2 separate regions of the Homo sapiens genome follow, and region 1 is linked to region 2. The links are contacts of gene promoters, found by promoter capture Hi-C in blood cells and fetal thymus (Javierre and others, 2016). All regions are on one chromosome and are shown on one strand. Each heading gives the region's core, a stretch centred on a gene start or on the middle of the fragment in contact. The rest is flanking DNA. Distances are from core to core; before and after follow the strand shown. Region 1 overlaps ABCB9 (ATP binding cassette subfamily B member 9). Region 2 holds the start of HIP1R (huntingtin interacting protein 1 related).

Evidence for each region. The method cuts DNA at HindIII sites, captures the fragments that hold promoters and counts their contacts. A CHiCAGO score of 5 or more calls a contact.
Region 1: a contact is called between a fragment that was not itself captured here and the fragment with the promoter of HIP1R in region 2, in 4 of 17 cell types (endothelial precursors, total B cells, non-activated CD4 T cells and 1 more). The highest score is 6.4, in endothelial precursors.

The regions. Positions count from the first base shown.
Region 1 is chr12:122,948,723-122,955,758 of GRCh38, reverse strand. ABCB9 (ATP binding cassette subfamily B member 9) reads left to right here. Exons shown (of 12, transcript NM_019625.4): 3 at 5,194-5,308; 4 at 5,841-5,971; 5 at 6,930-7,036. Among named protein-coding and RNA genes, the nearest start is that of ABCB9, 14 kb to the left of the region's middle. The HindIII fragment of the contact is 5,325 bases long and covers 626-5,950 here.
Region 2 is chr12:122,832,957-122,840,203 of GRCh38, reverse strand. HIP1R (huntingtin interacting protein 1 related) reads right to left here and starts at 4,747. Exons shown (of 32, transcript NM_003959.3): 1 at 4,561-4,747. The coding sequence starts at 4,653. LOC124903040 (a long non-coding RNA gene) reads left to right here and starts at 4,971. Exons shown (of 2, transcript XR_007063501.1): 1 at 4,971-5,030; 2 at 5,366-5,649. RefSeq lists silencers at 4,236-4,435, 4,606-4,845 and an enhancer at 5,096-5,145. The HindIII fragment of the contact is 2,457 bases long and covers 3,956-6,412 here.

The DNA of each region.
Region 1 (7,036 bases), core at 2,039-4,538, 120 kb before region 2:
GCCTAGGCAACAAAGTGAGACTCCGTCTCAAAAAAAAAAAAAACAAAAAAACAAAAACCCAAAAAACTATGCATTTATGCTGGGCACAGTGGCTCATGCCTACAATGCCAGTACTTTGGGAGTCTGAGGCAGGAGGATCACTTGAGGCCAGGAGTTCAAGACCAGTCTGGCCAACATAGCAAGACCCTGTTATGTATGCATTCACCCTCCTGCCTCCCCTCCCAGGTCCTGAGCCCCTCAGGGGCAGGGGCCAGGTCTGACTCACCCTGGATCCCAGTAGCTGGCACAGAGATGGGCTCACTGAATGAATAAATGAACAAAAGTATGAATGACTGTCATGCCTGTGCAGACAGATGGTGCCCCATGCCATGACCTTGTTTACCCGACCTGCTGGGGCCCTGCCGTCAGCTGCTGTGTGGTCGGGGAATGCAGACATCCTTAAATACTGCTGAGCAGATTTTCCCGGCTTGCAGGATTGCATCAAGAGTCAGGGCGCAGACTCGAGGCTCAGGCTCCCGACTTCACTGATAACTTTAGGCAAGTTATTAACCTGGCCAACGCTCACTTGACCATTCTGAAGTGAGGGCTTTCTTGGGGTACTGTGAGAAAGAAGTGAGAGGAAGCTTGGTGCCTAGCACAAGTAAATACTTAATCAGTGTTAGGGCCAGGTGCAATGCCATGTACCTGTGACCGCAGCTACTTGGGTGGCCAAGGAGGGAGGGTTGCTTTGGCTTAGGAGTTTGAGACCAACCTGGGCAACATAGCGAGACCCCATCTCAAAAAAGACAATTAGGTACTGTGATTATTAATAATTATTTTTCAATCAACAAGCATTCAGCAGTGCCCAGCTTTTCTGTACCCTCAGAATCTTAAAACAAACAAACAAAAACAAAAAACAAAAAACCACCCATTGGGAAATGTTAGTTTTAGGGTTGAGTATCTCTTATTAAATTAAGGTTCTTTAGAGGCCAAGTGCAGCAGCTCACACCTATAATCCCAGCACTTTGGAAGGCTGAGGTGGGCAGATCACTTGAGGTCAGGAGTTCAAGACTAGCTTGGCCAACATGGTGAAACTCCGTCTCTACTAAAAATACAAAAATCAGCCGGGCGTGGTGGCACACGCCTGTAATCCCAGCTGCTCAGAAGGCTGAGGCAGGAGAATTGCTTGAACCTGGGAGGTGGAGGTTGCAGTGAGCTGATATCGTGCCACTGCACTCCAGCCTGGGTGACGGAATGAGACTCTGTCTCAAAAAATAAAAAATAGGCCGGGCACGGTGGCTCACACCTGTAATCTCAGCAAGGGGGGGCAGATCACCTGAGGTCAGGAGTTCGAGACCAGCCTGACCAACATGGAGAAACCCCGTCTCTACTAAAAATACAAAATTAGCTAGGTGTGGTGGCGCATGCCTGTAATCCCAGCTACTCGGGAGGCTGAGGCAGGAGAATCGCTTGAACCCAGGAGGCAGAGGTTGCTGTGAGTGGAGATCGCACCATTGCATCGCAGCCTGGGCAACAAGAGTGAAACTCCGTCTCAAAAAAAATAAAAAAAATACATAAAAAACAAATGGAGTCCTTTTTTTTTTTTTTGAGGCAGGGCCTCCCTCTGTCACCCAGGCTGGATGGAGTACAGTGGAGTGATCACAGCGACTTCAGCCTTGACCTCTCCAGCTCAAGTGATCCTCCCACCTCGGCCTCCCAAAGTGCTGGGATTGCAGGTGTGAGCTACCTTCTGTAGCCTAAGATTCTTTAATATGGATTTCATGGCAAACCAAATGTATAAACTTGGGCAAGTGACTTAATCTCTCTGAGCCTCAGTTTCCTCTTTTGTGTAAAGAATACATTTCCACAAATGGAAGGAATAATTGTACCAAACCTATAGGATTACTGGGTGGCCTTTGAGACTTAAGAAGGTAGGGGAGCAGATATCTGGGGTAAGTGGCTGGGTGTGGTGGCTCACACCTGTAATCCCAGCATTTTGGAAGGCCGAGGCGGGCAGATCACTTGAGGTCAAGAGTTCAAGACCAGCCTGGGCAACATGGTGAAACCCTGTCTCTAATAAAAATATAAAATTTAGGCCAGGTGCGATGGCTCATGCCTGTAATCCCAGCACTTTGGGAGGCCAAGGCAGGTGGATCACGAGGTCAGGAGTTCAAGATCAGCCAGGCCAACATGGTGAAACCCCATCTCTACTAAAAATACAAAAATTAGCCAGGTGCAATGGCAGGTGTCTGTAATCCCAGCTACTCGGGAGGCTGAGGCAGGACAATCACTTGAACCCAGGTGGCAGAGGTTACAGCGAGCTGAAATCGTGCCAATACACTCCAGCCTGGGCGACGGAGTGCGACTCCATCTCAAAATATATATATACATATATAAAATTTAGCCGGGTGTGATGGCGGTCACCTGTAATCTCAGCTACTTGGGAGGCTGAGGCATGAGAATCACTTGAACCCAGGAAGTGGAGGTTGCAGTGAGCTGAGATCATGCCACTGCACTCCAGCCTGGGTAACAGACTGAGACTCCATCTCAAAAAAAAAAAAAAATGTATGTGGTAAGAGCACTCCAGGCAGAAGGACTAGCCCATGCAAAGGTCCTGAGGCAGGAAGGTGCCCAGTTGTTCAAGAGCAGACACCAGTTAGCTGGAGCAGAGGGAGTGAGATGGGGCGGGGAGAAGACAAAGGTCTCTGCTAGCGGCTCAATCATGCAGGTCCTTGTGGGCTATTGTAAAGACTTTGGCTTTTACCATCTCACTGGATGAGAAGGGGGATTTGGACTGTTTTGAGCCAAGGAGCAACAAGATCTGAAGTTAGTTCCAACAGGATCCTGCCTTCTACTGTGTGGACAGGCTGATGTGAGCAAAGTTGAGAGCAGGCTACTGAGATAGTCCCAGTGAGGTTAATGACTTGGACCAGGGTTGGGGCAGTAGAGGCAGTGAAAGTGGTCAGGTTCTGGAAATGGTCTGAGTATTTGCTGGTGCATTGGAGAGTTTCACGTAATTCTTGTGCAGATTCAGCAAGAGAGTTTGCCGGCATGCTTTGCACAGCCCCTGGTACCCAGTAAGGCGATTATTAGCATTGGTGCTTGCTGGAATCAGATATTCCAGAATATTCTGTCACAGCTCATCGTTGCCCTCTTCTTTTCTGTGGGTAAACTGAGGCAGAAACTCAGGCTGGGTGGAACTCTGCAGCCTCAGCTGGAGACCTCGTCTGGCCAAGGACTGTGGGGACACAGGCCCTCTAGGCTGCCACCTCATGGTCCCAGCAGAGGGCACCAGAACTGCACAGAAAGTCTCACTACCCAAGTGTCTGAGCCAGGCCAGACTGTGCTAGCCAGACCTGCCCGGGGTTCATTCACTGACCTTTATTGAGCACCTACTGTATGCCCAGCCCCAAACCTGGCTCTGCTCATGGAAAGAACTTCAGTGGAAACAGGTCCTGGGATGAACAAGGGCCTGGCCTGGCCTGGTGATGCCACTATTTCCTTAAGAGGAGAGTGGACATTCCGGATTATTGTCGGGGGAGTCTCATTTCTGCTGCTGTAACAAAATACCACAGACTGGGTCATTTAGAAACCATAGAAACTGATTTCGTACTGTTCTAGAGGCTGGGAAGTCCCAGATCAAGGTGCCAGCAGGTTTGGTGTCGTGAGGGCCACTCTCTGCTTCCAAGATGGTCCCTCCTTGCTGTGTCCTCTGGAGGGGAAGACTGCTGTGTCCTCACGCTGCAGAAGGTGGAAGGGCGAGAGATGGCAAACCAGGCTTACAAGCCCTTTGAAAAGGGCCCTCATCCCATCCTGGAGAGCTCTGCCCTATCACATTGGCGATTATGTTTCAATATGTAAATTTTGGGAGATGCATTCAGACCACAGGAGGAAGGGAAAAGAAAGAGCCCCCAGGTTGAAAGCCAGTTTAGGTTTGAGTCCCAGCCTTTCCCCTTGCTGTGTGACCTGGAGTAAATTCCTCAGCCTCTGTGAGTCTCCCATTCCACCCCAGGATTGTTGTGAAAACACAGTAAGGCAAGCGGGTAAGAAAGCACCCAGCAAGGTGTCAAGTGCCCCACCAGGAGGGGTGGGGTGGCAATTTCCAGCATTGCTTGGAACCAGAATAGCAACGTCTTCTGAGGTTCCAGAATTTGGACTCTGAACCCATTGAGAAGAATGAAATCAACTTTGGCGTCAATCAGCCACTGATTGCCATGTGGCCTGGACGAGTCATCTCATTCAACTTCACTTTCAGCCGGACGCTGTGACTCAGGCCTGTAACCCCAGCACTTTGGGAAGCTGAGGTGGGTGGATCGCTTGAGCCCAGGAGTTAGAGACCAGCCTGGGCAACCTAGCGAAACCTCGTCTCTACAAAAAAATACAAAAAATTAGCTAGGCCTGGTGGCGTGTGCCTGTAGTCCCGGCTACTCAGGAGTCTGAGGTGGGAAGATCCACTGAGCCCAGGAGGTTGAGGCTGCACTCCAGCCTGGGCGACAGGAGTGAAACCCTGTCTCAAAAAGTTAAAAAAAAAAAAAAAAAGGAAAATATTTTAGAAAAAGAAAAACAAATTAATTTTTCTCATTTGTAAAATGGGGGTGATTCCAGGGCCTGCTCCAAAGGGAATGAAACAAAGTTCAGGAGCGGTGGCTCATACCTATAATCCCAGTACTTTGGGAGGCCAAGGTAGGAGGATTGCTTCAACCCAGGAGGTTGAGACCAGCTTGGGCCACATAGTGAGACCCCTGTCTCTACAAAAAAAAAAAAAAAAAAATTAGCCTGGCATGGTGGCACATGCCTGTATTCCCTACTCAGGAGGCTGAGACAGGAGGATCACCTGAGCCCAGGAGTTTGATGCTGCAGTGAGCTATGATTACACCACTGCACTCCAGCCCGGGGGACACAGCGAGACCCTGTCTCAAAAAACAAGAGAATGAAGCATCCTGCAGGAGCCCTGGCTCGATGCCTGGTAGCCACTATAAATAAAGAAGAACCAGCAGGCTGTGTGGATGCAAGGCCCAGTGCTCCCCTGTTCTCTGAGGAGGGGGGCATTAAGCACCCTGGGGCCCCACGATGGGCAGCAAGAGTTTGCCGAGGGAGGAAAGCCCACCGGTGGAGTGGGCAGAGGGGTTGGTGTGTGGACTTCTGGAGCCTCAGGAGGAAGGGTGCGGGTTCCCCTGGCTGCAGACGTCCCTGAGGCTGCCCTGCCTCCCCCAGGAGAGACCTTCCTGCCCTACTACACGGGCCGCGCCATTGATGGCATCGTCATCCAGAAAAGCATGGATCAGTTCAGCACGGCTGTCGTCATCGTGTGCCTGCTGGCCATTGGCAGGTAGCTGGCTCAACCCCCACGCCCTGCCCCGCACACCCCGACCTGCACCAGGGAGGGAAGGGAGGGCCTGTTCCTAAGGAAGACAGGGGCCAGGGAGGCCCTGGAAATGCCCCTGGTGGGCCTGTCCCTCAGCTGGTCACCCTGGGAACCGGCTTCCACACTGTCTTAGAGCACCCTAGAACCACACCCTCTGGTCCCTGAAAAGGGCTTCAGTCCTCAGGGTTCCCTGCTCACCCTCCCTGGCTGTTTTCCAAGTAGGAATCTGGTCCCAAACAGAACCGGCTTTGTCTGAGCTGTTCTGGAAGGAAGAGGGTCTGGCTGGCACATTTGGGTCTCTTGTCCCACAACTGTCCCCTTTGCCCTCACCTTGAGGGGGGCTCCCACTGGGAATGAGGGGGACCCCGCAGGGATGCCAGCCCTGGAGTGGGGCTGCGGTGGGGCTCCCAGGCCTGCCGGCAGCGGGAGGGGGCAGCCGGGTGTGGTCACTGGTCTGGAAGGACATCGTGCTATAATATCTCTTATCTGCAATTAGCTCATTTGCCGCAGGTATTCGGGGCGGCATTTTTACCCTCATATTTGCCAGACTGAACATTCGCCTTCGAAACTGTCTCTTCCGCTCACTGGTGTCCCAGGAGACAAGCTTCTTTGATGAGAACCGCACAGGTTGGTCCTTCCAGTGCCCTAGGTGTCCTGGGGGCTGGGCCCCACCCCTGTGGGCTTGCCTGGCACTGAGGAATGAAATGGGCGTGTGGGTGGTCTCAGCCCTCTGTCTTCTCCTCCTGCTGTTAGTTCAGGCTGGGAACACCCTGGGCTTGGCCTGTGTCCTGGGAGCTGGCTTGCTCACTGAGGTTTTGGTGTGGGCTGCGGCCTCTGTGGGGCCCAGGCCAGGCCACCCGAGGTCCCTGCAGGAGCCAAGGCCTTGCTTTCCATTGCCCCATGGAAACCACCAGGTCCAGGACTACCCACGCCTGTGGCCGACAGAGACCCTGCTCCCATGGGGGTCAGCAGGTGAGGGCCAGGGGCCACAACGGGGAAGACGATAGAATATCCACCAAGATCCAAGCTCTGAGAGACACCGGCCTGGGTCGAAGCCCTGGTTCCTCCACTCACGAACTTCACCTCTCTGATCCTCTGTTTTCTTGTCTGTAAAATGGGAACACGGATAGTAGCCACCCCATGGGGTCCTTACACAGCTCTTAGCACAATGTCCAACTTAGGTAAGAAGTGTCTGCGCTTTCCTGCCCGCCACCAGCCAGGTTGTTATTTCCCTAGAAGGGAAGAGGAGTTACCCCCTCTGCCAGTGACAGGGAGGAGACATGGGTTTGAAGTCTGGCTCAGTCACGGACAGGCTGTGTGACTCTACGGGGGCCTTCCTGTTCTGAGCCCCAGCCTCCTCCGCTGTACAGCGGGATGTCATGAAGCTTAAGCAAGATGCTGATGACTGGGATTGGCTCAGAGTAGCCCTCGAGGGGTATCTGCTCTTCTCCCCCACCCCCCAACCCCGCCCACAGGTAGGGAGGCCCGGCTTCCCAGTGTCTGTCTCAGAGGCCCCTTAGCATCCCCCACCGCCACCCCCAAGGCCCGGGTTGCTGTGGTGAGAGCTGAGCCGCGTGTGTTCCAGGGGACCTCATCTCCCGCCTGACCTCGGACACCACCATGGTCAGCGACCTGGTCTCCCAGAACATCAATGTCTTCCTGCGGAACACAGTCAAGGTCACGGGCGTGGTG
Region 2 (7,247 bases), core at 3,498-5,997:
ACCCCAACCTGGACCAAGAACAGCCTCTGGAATAGCTCTGCCAGGGAGGCAATATGCAGCCCAGGGGTCGGGAAGTCAGCGGCCTGCCGGGCATCACCACGAGGGCATCACCATGTGGGCTGATGGGGTGGAACCGAGCAGAGGATGTCACGGGGCGAGACAGCAGTGCGCATGCCCAGGAACAACGAGCTCAACGCCCATGCCATGCTGCGGGCAAATCACTCCTATACACGTAAATGTTGCCCTTTTCTAAAAGCCACCAGGTGATTCTAACACTTGCATTGTCCGGCACGGTAGCCGCTGGCCGGTGCGGGCTGTGAGTATTGGAAAGGTGGTGAGTCCAGACTGAGATCAGCTGTGAGTGTCCAGTGCATACCTATTTCAAAGATTTAGTAGGAGAAAAAGAATGTAAATTCTCCTATTCATAATTTTTGTGGCAATTACATGTTGAAAGGGCTAGCTTTTGGATATACTGGGTTAAATAAAATATGCTATTACAGTTAATCGCACCTGTTTCTGTTGACTTTTCTAGTAGTTACTAGACAATCTAAAAGTACACACGTGGCTTGCCTCTGGTTCCTCCTGGACAACACTGCTCTACTGTGTGCCGGGGCTGAGAAGCCCTCAGTTGTCAATAAATGTTAATCTTGACAGGATTTTGGTTTCACGGGGGATGCTAAGCATGTATGTCACCAACCTGGAAAATTGGACCTATGAACTGTTTCCACATATTGCTGCCCTAGACAGTCCCTGCCCCACAGGAACCCCTTACACCTGGGTAGTTTCATGTCTACAGTTAATGCTCACCCGCCAGACTTGGCTCACTCAGCAGTGGCCAGAGGCCTTGCAGTGTAGTAAAGGGTTTCTCTCATCCTAACCTGAGAGGAATCTTCTGGGCTTGATCTCCATCCTGTGGGCCTGCAGTGGAAACTGAGGCCCAGTGAAGCAGAAAGGTTCACAGATCAGGAAAAGGCAGGACTCACCATTAGCATTTCCAGTACTCCTAACTGAGTCCTTCTTCATGATATGCTTCAAAGATGCTTTCTTCTCTAGATGTTAAACTTTTCAGCCGAGGAAGGGAAGGGAGAAAGACGGTTGGGCCAAGTATCTGCTGAGGCCCTTCTATGCCCTAGGTGCTCTTTCATGTTTACATACTGGATGTATTAGTTCCTTATGGCTGCCATAACAAATCACACAAACTCGCAGTTCTGGAGGTCGGAAGTCTAAAACAGGTCTCACAGGACTAAAAGCAAAGTGTCAGAAAGGCTGTGTTTCCTCCTGGAGGCTCTAGGGAAGAATCCATTTCCTCGCCTTTTCCAGGCTGTGGAGGATGCCCATACTCCTTGGCTAGTGGCTCCTCCCCAGCAGCAGGCAGTGAGTCTTTCTCACATGGACTCAGTCCGACCTCCTCTCCTGCCTCCCTTGTCCACATTTAAAGACCTTTGTGATTACACTGAGCCCACCTGGTAGCCCAGGAGAATCGCCCCATCTCAAGGACCATCTCAGCTGATGAAAAACTCTAATTCCACCTGCAACGCCTTACTAAGTCATTAACGTAGTCACAGGTTCTAGCTGCCACACGGTCTCTCTCTTACACCTTACAACAGCCCTATACGATAGCTGGAACGATCTGTATGGTTTTTTTTTCAGACAAGGACATAGATTTACAAGTTAAGCAACTTGCCAGGGACACAGGCTAGAGCCTAGGTCTATCTACCTACTAGTGCCTTTATGATACCACACCCTCTTTTTAAATGGTACAGGCAGTGTTCAGGTTCCAAATACAGGCATGCTGTATTTTGTAGTATTCTGTATTCAGAAAACAGCAACAAGACAATAAAAGTTTGTCACCTCCATTTTGAAAAGGATTTTTTTTTTTTTTAACCAAAGGGACTAAAGTCATAGGGAAGAAAAGCATACACTGGTTTTCTGGACATTCCCCTGGGATTATACACACACACCATGCAACAATCACAGGCACCAGCTCCCAGCAGGCACATGATCGCCTCTCTTCACACTCCTGAGCGCTAACCCCACAGATATTTGCAAACAGGGTGTGTCCTGTCAAAAAAGCTCACAGGAAAGCAATTATCTTCCTCCTGACCCAGGAGCCCAGGGGAGGAAAGCGAGGCTGGCAGGCTAGTGAATATTTAAATTCTAAGCCAGCCTAGTGCTCCTGCCACAGCACACAGTGCTGTGGTCAATGCAAGACAAGCAGCGTATTACAAAGGAAGCCAGGTCCCTGGACTGCATGTGCTATTTTCTGTCCCGAAGGAGACATGGAAGTAACAACCTCAGCTCTCCAGGTCCTTTTCCACCACGGGACCTGGCTGGCGGCTCACCTGATTATTTCTGGGAACGATCTAATTAAATATTAACCACGTACAAAACCTCATTCTTACATTCCTCAATAAGTCACTGTGAAGACGAGCAAACCCAGACAATGAACTCAAACTCCAACTTTCCAGAAAATGGGGCCCTAGAATAGGTAAGACCTGTGACATTCACCCATTACAAAGTTATTCATTGTTAGTGGCCCTCTTAGCCTCTGAGAAAAAACCAGAGCAAAACAAAACAAAACAATCCACCTTCGGAGAGGTGCCTGTAATCCCAACATCTCGGGAGGCCGAGGTGAGGCGGGTGGATCGCCTGAGGTCAGGAGTTCGAGACCAGCCTGTCCAACATGGTGAAACACCTTCTCTACTGCAAACACAAAAATTAGCCAGGTGTGGTGGCGCACGCTTGTAGTCCCAGCCACTTGGGAGGCTGAGGCAGGAGAATCACTTGAACCCGGGAGGCGGAGGTTGCAGCGAGCTGAGATCATGCCATTGCACTCCAGCCTGGGCAACGAGAGAGACTCTGTCTTTAAAAAAAAAAAAAAAAAATCCACCTTCTTGTGTATCAAACCAACCACTAAAATGTGTGGTCCTGTATCAGAGATTCTCTCTTTGACACTCAGGAAGGTTGCCCTTGACTTCTTATCATTTAAGAGTAAGATCAATGAAGTTGGTCCTTCACATCCCATCTCCTCCATGTAGCAATCAGACCTCTTTATACGTCCTCAAAGGCACGAGAAAAAACTCAGTGAATAAACAAAGTTTCTGACAACATCCAGATATGTCTGCCAATTCAGGTTTTCTCCCTATGATCTACAAGTTCTTGGCACAATTAATTATGTATTGGTGACTTTAAATTTTTTTAAAATGACGGGCTATCCGGGCTGAACCAGTTGATGGTGATGAAGATCACAAGGCTAAATTGGTAATTTGCAGCCACCTGGGTTCCAGCACTTCGCATTTCTAAAGCCTTGATATCCTCAGGATTTATTATCGCTTTCTGGGTCAATCCCAAGCACAAAGGTTAGAAGGTCTCCCTGCGTTCTCTCTCATTTCAAAACGAAAGCTGTTGTAGAGTGCGTGTGCTAACTAGATGTGAAGGCAACCGCAGAAGTCATAGCTCTCTGCAAGGACAAGTGGGACGGAACTTGCAAATAGCCGCCACAAACGCAAATGTCACCAACCTGCTTTAGACAGGAGTGGGAGGGGTCCTCTGGCTTCCTTTATCTCTAGAGTAAAATTTTTCAGCCATTTCAGTCTTGGTTGACTTATTTTGGCAAATAAACAAGTATGCCCCCCTCCACCGCCCATCCCCCAAGCCTGAGAGCACTTCAAGAGTTTGTAAAATAAAAAGCAACAGGAAACCAGAAACGCAGCAACGTCTGCATCGTGGGTCCCCGGCACAAACACAAGTACAAAACGCACACCCGCGCCCTTATTTCATTTCTAACGCCTTCCCAGGATAGGCATCATCTGGAAGAGTTACAAGCGTGGGAGGCGCAGGAAGGGAGCCCCAGGAAGTTTCTGTCTGTCGGGCGCCGGTATTTAATGAGGGGGTGTGCACCTATTTATACGTGGGCAGCGCTCGGGCAAACAAGTCTGGCGACATACGAGAAGCTTTTCACCCAGCAAATAATAGGAGACTGTGCAGCCCTGGGAAACCGCTCACGAGAGAAGGAAGCTGGGAGTTTAAGGAATTTCCTTTAAGGAAATTGCCCGTGGGGGCATCGGTTTCAGGGGGTAGGAGACGGGGGCAGGAGCCGGCAAGGAGCGGCACGGAAGGTCGGGGACCCCAGTCGGGCCGCGCCGGCCCCGGGAGCACCTGGATCCCCAGCCCCCTCGACCCCCGGCGCGCTGGGCTCGCGCACACCCAACCCCGGCCCCATCTCCGTCCCCCGCCGCCTCAGCTCCGGCGCTCCCGGCCCGCGCACACCCTGACCCCGGCCCCCTCAGCCCCGGCGCCTCTGGGCCCGAGCGCCCGGCGGGAGCGGGGAGCGCGGCTTCCGGTTCACCTGCGCGCCGGTCGGCTCGGGCCGCGGAGGCCGGCGGGGGGCGGCAGCGGAGCTCTCGGAGAGCCCGGGCGGACACAGGCCCTGCCCCCGCGCCGTCCCCCGCCCCTGGCCGGCGCCTCCCGGGCCCCAGCCGTTCGCGCGTGAGGGGTCAGGGACGCCGCTTGCCCGCCCGCCCGCCGCCGCCCGCCGCCCGCCGCCCGCCGCCCGCTCGCCTGGGTCTTGTCGAACTGCTCGCGCTCGGCCTCCAGGCTGTGGCCCGGCCTGCGGCTCAGCACCCGCGCCGGCACGTTCTTGATGCTGTTCATCCTGCCGCCGCCGCCCGCTTTTGTCCGGCTCCGTCCGCGCGACTCACAGCCTCACGGTCCGGCAGCCCCAGCCTAGGCACCGCGAGGCCACCGCGCCGCGCCCGGGCCCGCCCGCCGGGGAGGAGCCCGCCTCGCCCCGCCCCCAACTCCAGGGCACGCCCCTCCCCCGCACACCTCCAAACCCGCCCCCCGCGCCCGCAAACGCCTCGCCCGCCCCCAACTCCAGGGCGCGCCCCTCCACCCGCACACCTCCAACCCCACCCCCCGCGATCTCGGGACACGCGCCTCTCCCCGCACATCCCCAACCCCCCATCCCGCGGCGACCCCGGCACACGCCCCGCCCCCCGCACACCTCCAACCCCCACCTCACTCACAAGGTTGGGGCACAGGCCAAACGCCCCCCCAGCTCCTCCCCACCTCTAATCCCCTCCCTAAACCCGGAGGGGAGGGTAGGGGAAGGGGGAGGGGGAACCCCTCCCTCCTCCTTCCACCCAGGGTAGGGACCCCAGCCAATTCCCTCTCCCCACCCCTCCTCCGAACTCACTAAGTCTTGTCTGCACCAGGGCAAGATCTGGTTAATTGGAGAAAATCTGGCCTCCATGAGTCTGGTCGGTGGCAGCACAGATAGACGCTTTTTTTCCTTTTTGGTCTTAATGTATGTGTCAAAAGGCACACAATGACACTCTCCCCTCTTTGTGCAATTCTGACATAGCTGCAGCTGTTATCCATGCGGGGATGCAGGATGCATTTCCAGAGACGCCGCCGGCTCCGCAACCGGACACCTCGCCAGCTCCAGGGACAATGGGGGCTGAGGCCGGGCGCTGTTAGGCTGGCACAGAAGGCAGGCGGATCTGAACAGCAAAGTACACCGAGGAGATGCCGCCAGGGGTGGCGTGAGGCTTTTTAAAAACATTATTATTGGCTTTCCCTTAAAATTACTGGTCACAAGACTGAAGTAAAAAAATAAATAAAAGCCCAGAGTCCTCTCTAAGCGTAGCTCTCAGATGGGTATTGTGTTTCTGCTGTTTCCCTTTCCTATCGGAATGCAGATGTGGAATCATGCATAAAGGTCCCTTGCTTTTGAAGGGAGAGGCACCGCCTGCCTGTAAGGAGGAAAATGACGCCCACGTAATCCTGACCCTTGTCTCCCTAGTGAGACTGTAACCTGTCTGAGGTCAGAGACCCTTTCCTTTCCTTTCCTTTCCTTTCCTTTCCCTTTCCCTTTCCTTTCCTTCCTCCTTCTTTTCTTTCTTTTCTCTCTTTCTCTCTCTTCTTTCTTTCTCTTTCTTTCTTTCTTTTCTTTTCTTCTCTTTCTTTCTTTTCTTTTTTTTTAACCGAGCTTCACTCTTGTTGCCTAGGCTGGAGTGCAATGGCACAATCTCACCTCACCGCAACCTCCGCCTCCTGGGTTCAAGCAATTCTCCTGCCTCAGCCTCCCAAATAGCTGGAATTACAGGCATGTGCCACCACGCCTGGCTAATTTTGTATTTTTAGTAGAGACAGAGTTTCTCCGTGTTGGTCAGGCTGGTCTCGAACTCCCGACCTCAGGTGATCCGCCCGCCTCGGCCTCCCAAAGTGTTGGGATTACAGGCGTGAGCCACCACACCCCGCCAGGGACCCTTTTCTTTAACTGATTCCTCACCCTCCAGCCCAAGAGCTAGAGCTGACCCCAAAAGATAACATTTGCCAAGACTCTCCTGTCACTGCACCAAAAGGAGAAATTAATCCTGTTTTCTCTAATTCCAATCACTAAAAAGCTTCTTTATCAGAATAACGGTAGAATCACAATAGCTGATATGTACTGAATGCTTATTATTTGGCAGGCACTGGGCTAAACCCTTCATATGTAACTTAGTCAACTTAGTTGATAGCTGTGCTCTAATAAAGACCACAGTAAAGGGGCTTTTTGCGGTACTCCAGCTGTTTCTCACACTCCTTTTTCCACACGGAACAAAAGTGGTTCTCCTGTGACCCTTCACGCATATACAGCATCCCTTTTCAACCAGGCAACAGCCCCTGTAGGTCTAGCACATCTGCCACAGAGACTTCCCATTAGCAACTGGCTTTTTAAATAATCACAGAGCCTATTACTGTGCCGGGCACCAGGCTCAGCATCTGTTAAACAGTATCTCACTTATTCTTCTTTAAAGTTGTTGATGAGGCTCGGCACAGTGGCTCACGCCTGTATTCCGAGCACTTTGGGAGGCTGAGGCAGGTGGATCACTTGAGCTCAGGAGTTCGAAACCATTCTGGGCAACATGGTGAAACCCCATCTCTACCAAAAAATACGAAAAACTTAGCTGGCCGTGATGGCGTGCCTGTAGTCCCAGCTACCCAGGAGGCTGAGGTGGGAGGATCACTTAGGCCTGCAAGGCAGAGGTTGCAGTAAGCTGAGATCATGCCACTGCACTCCAGCCTAGACAACAGAGTGAAACCTTCTCTCAAAATAAATAAATAAAAAATAAAGCATCAACAACTTTATTTTTATTTATTTATTTTTTTTGAGACAGGGTCTGGCTTCGTTACCCAGGCCGGAATGCAGTGGCATAATCATAGCTCACTGCAATTTCTGCCTCCTGGGCTCAAGTGATCCT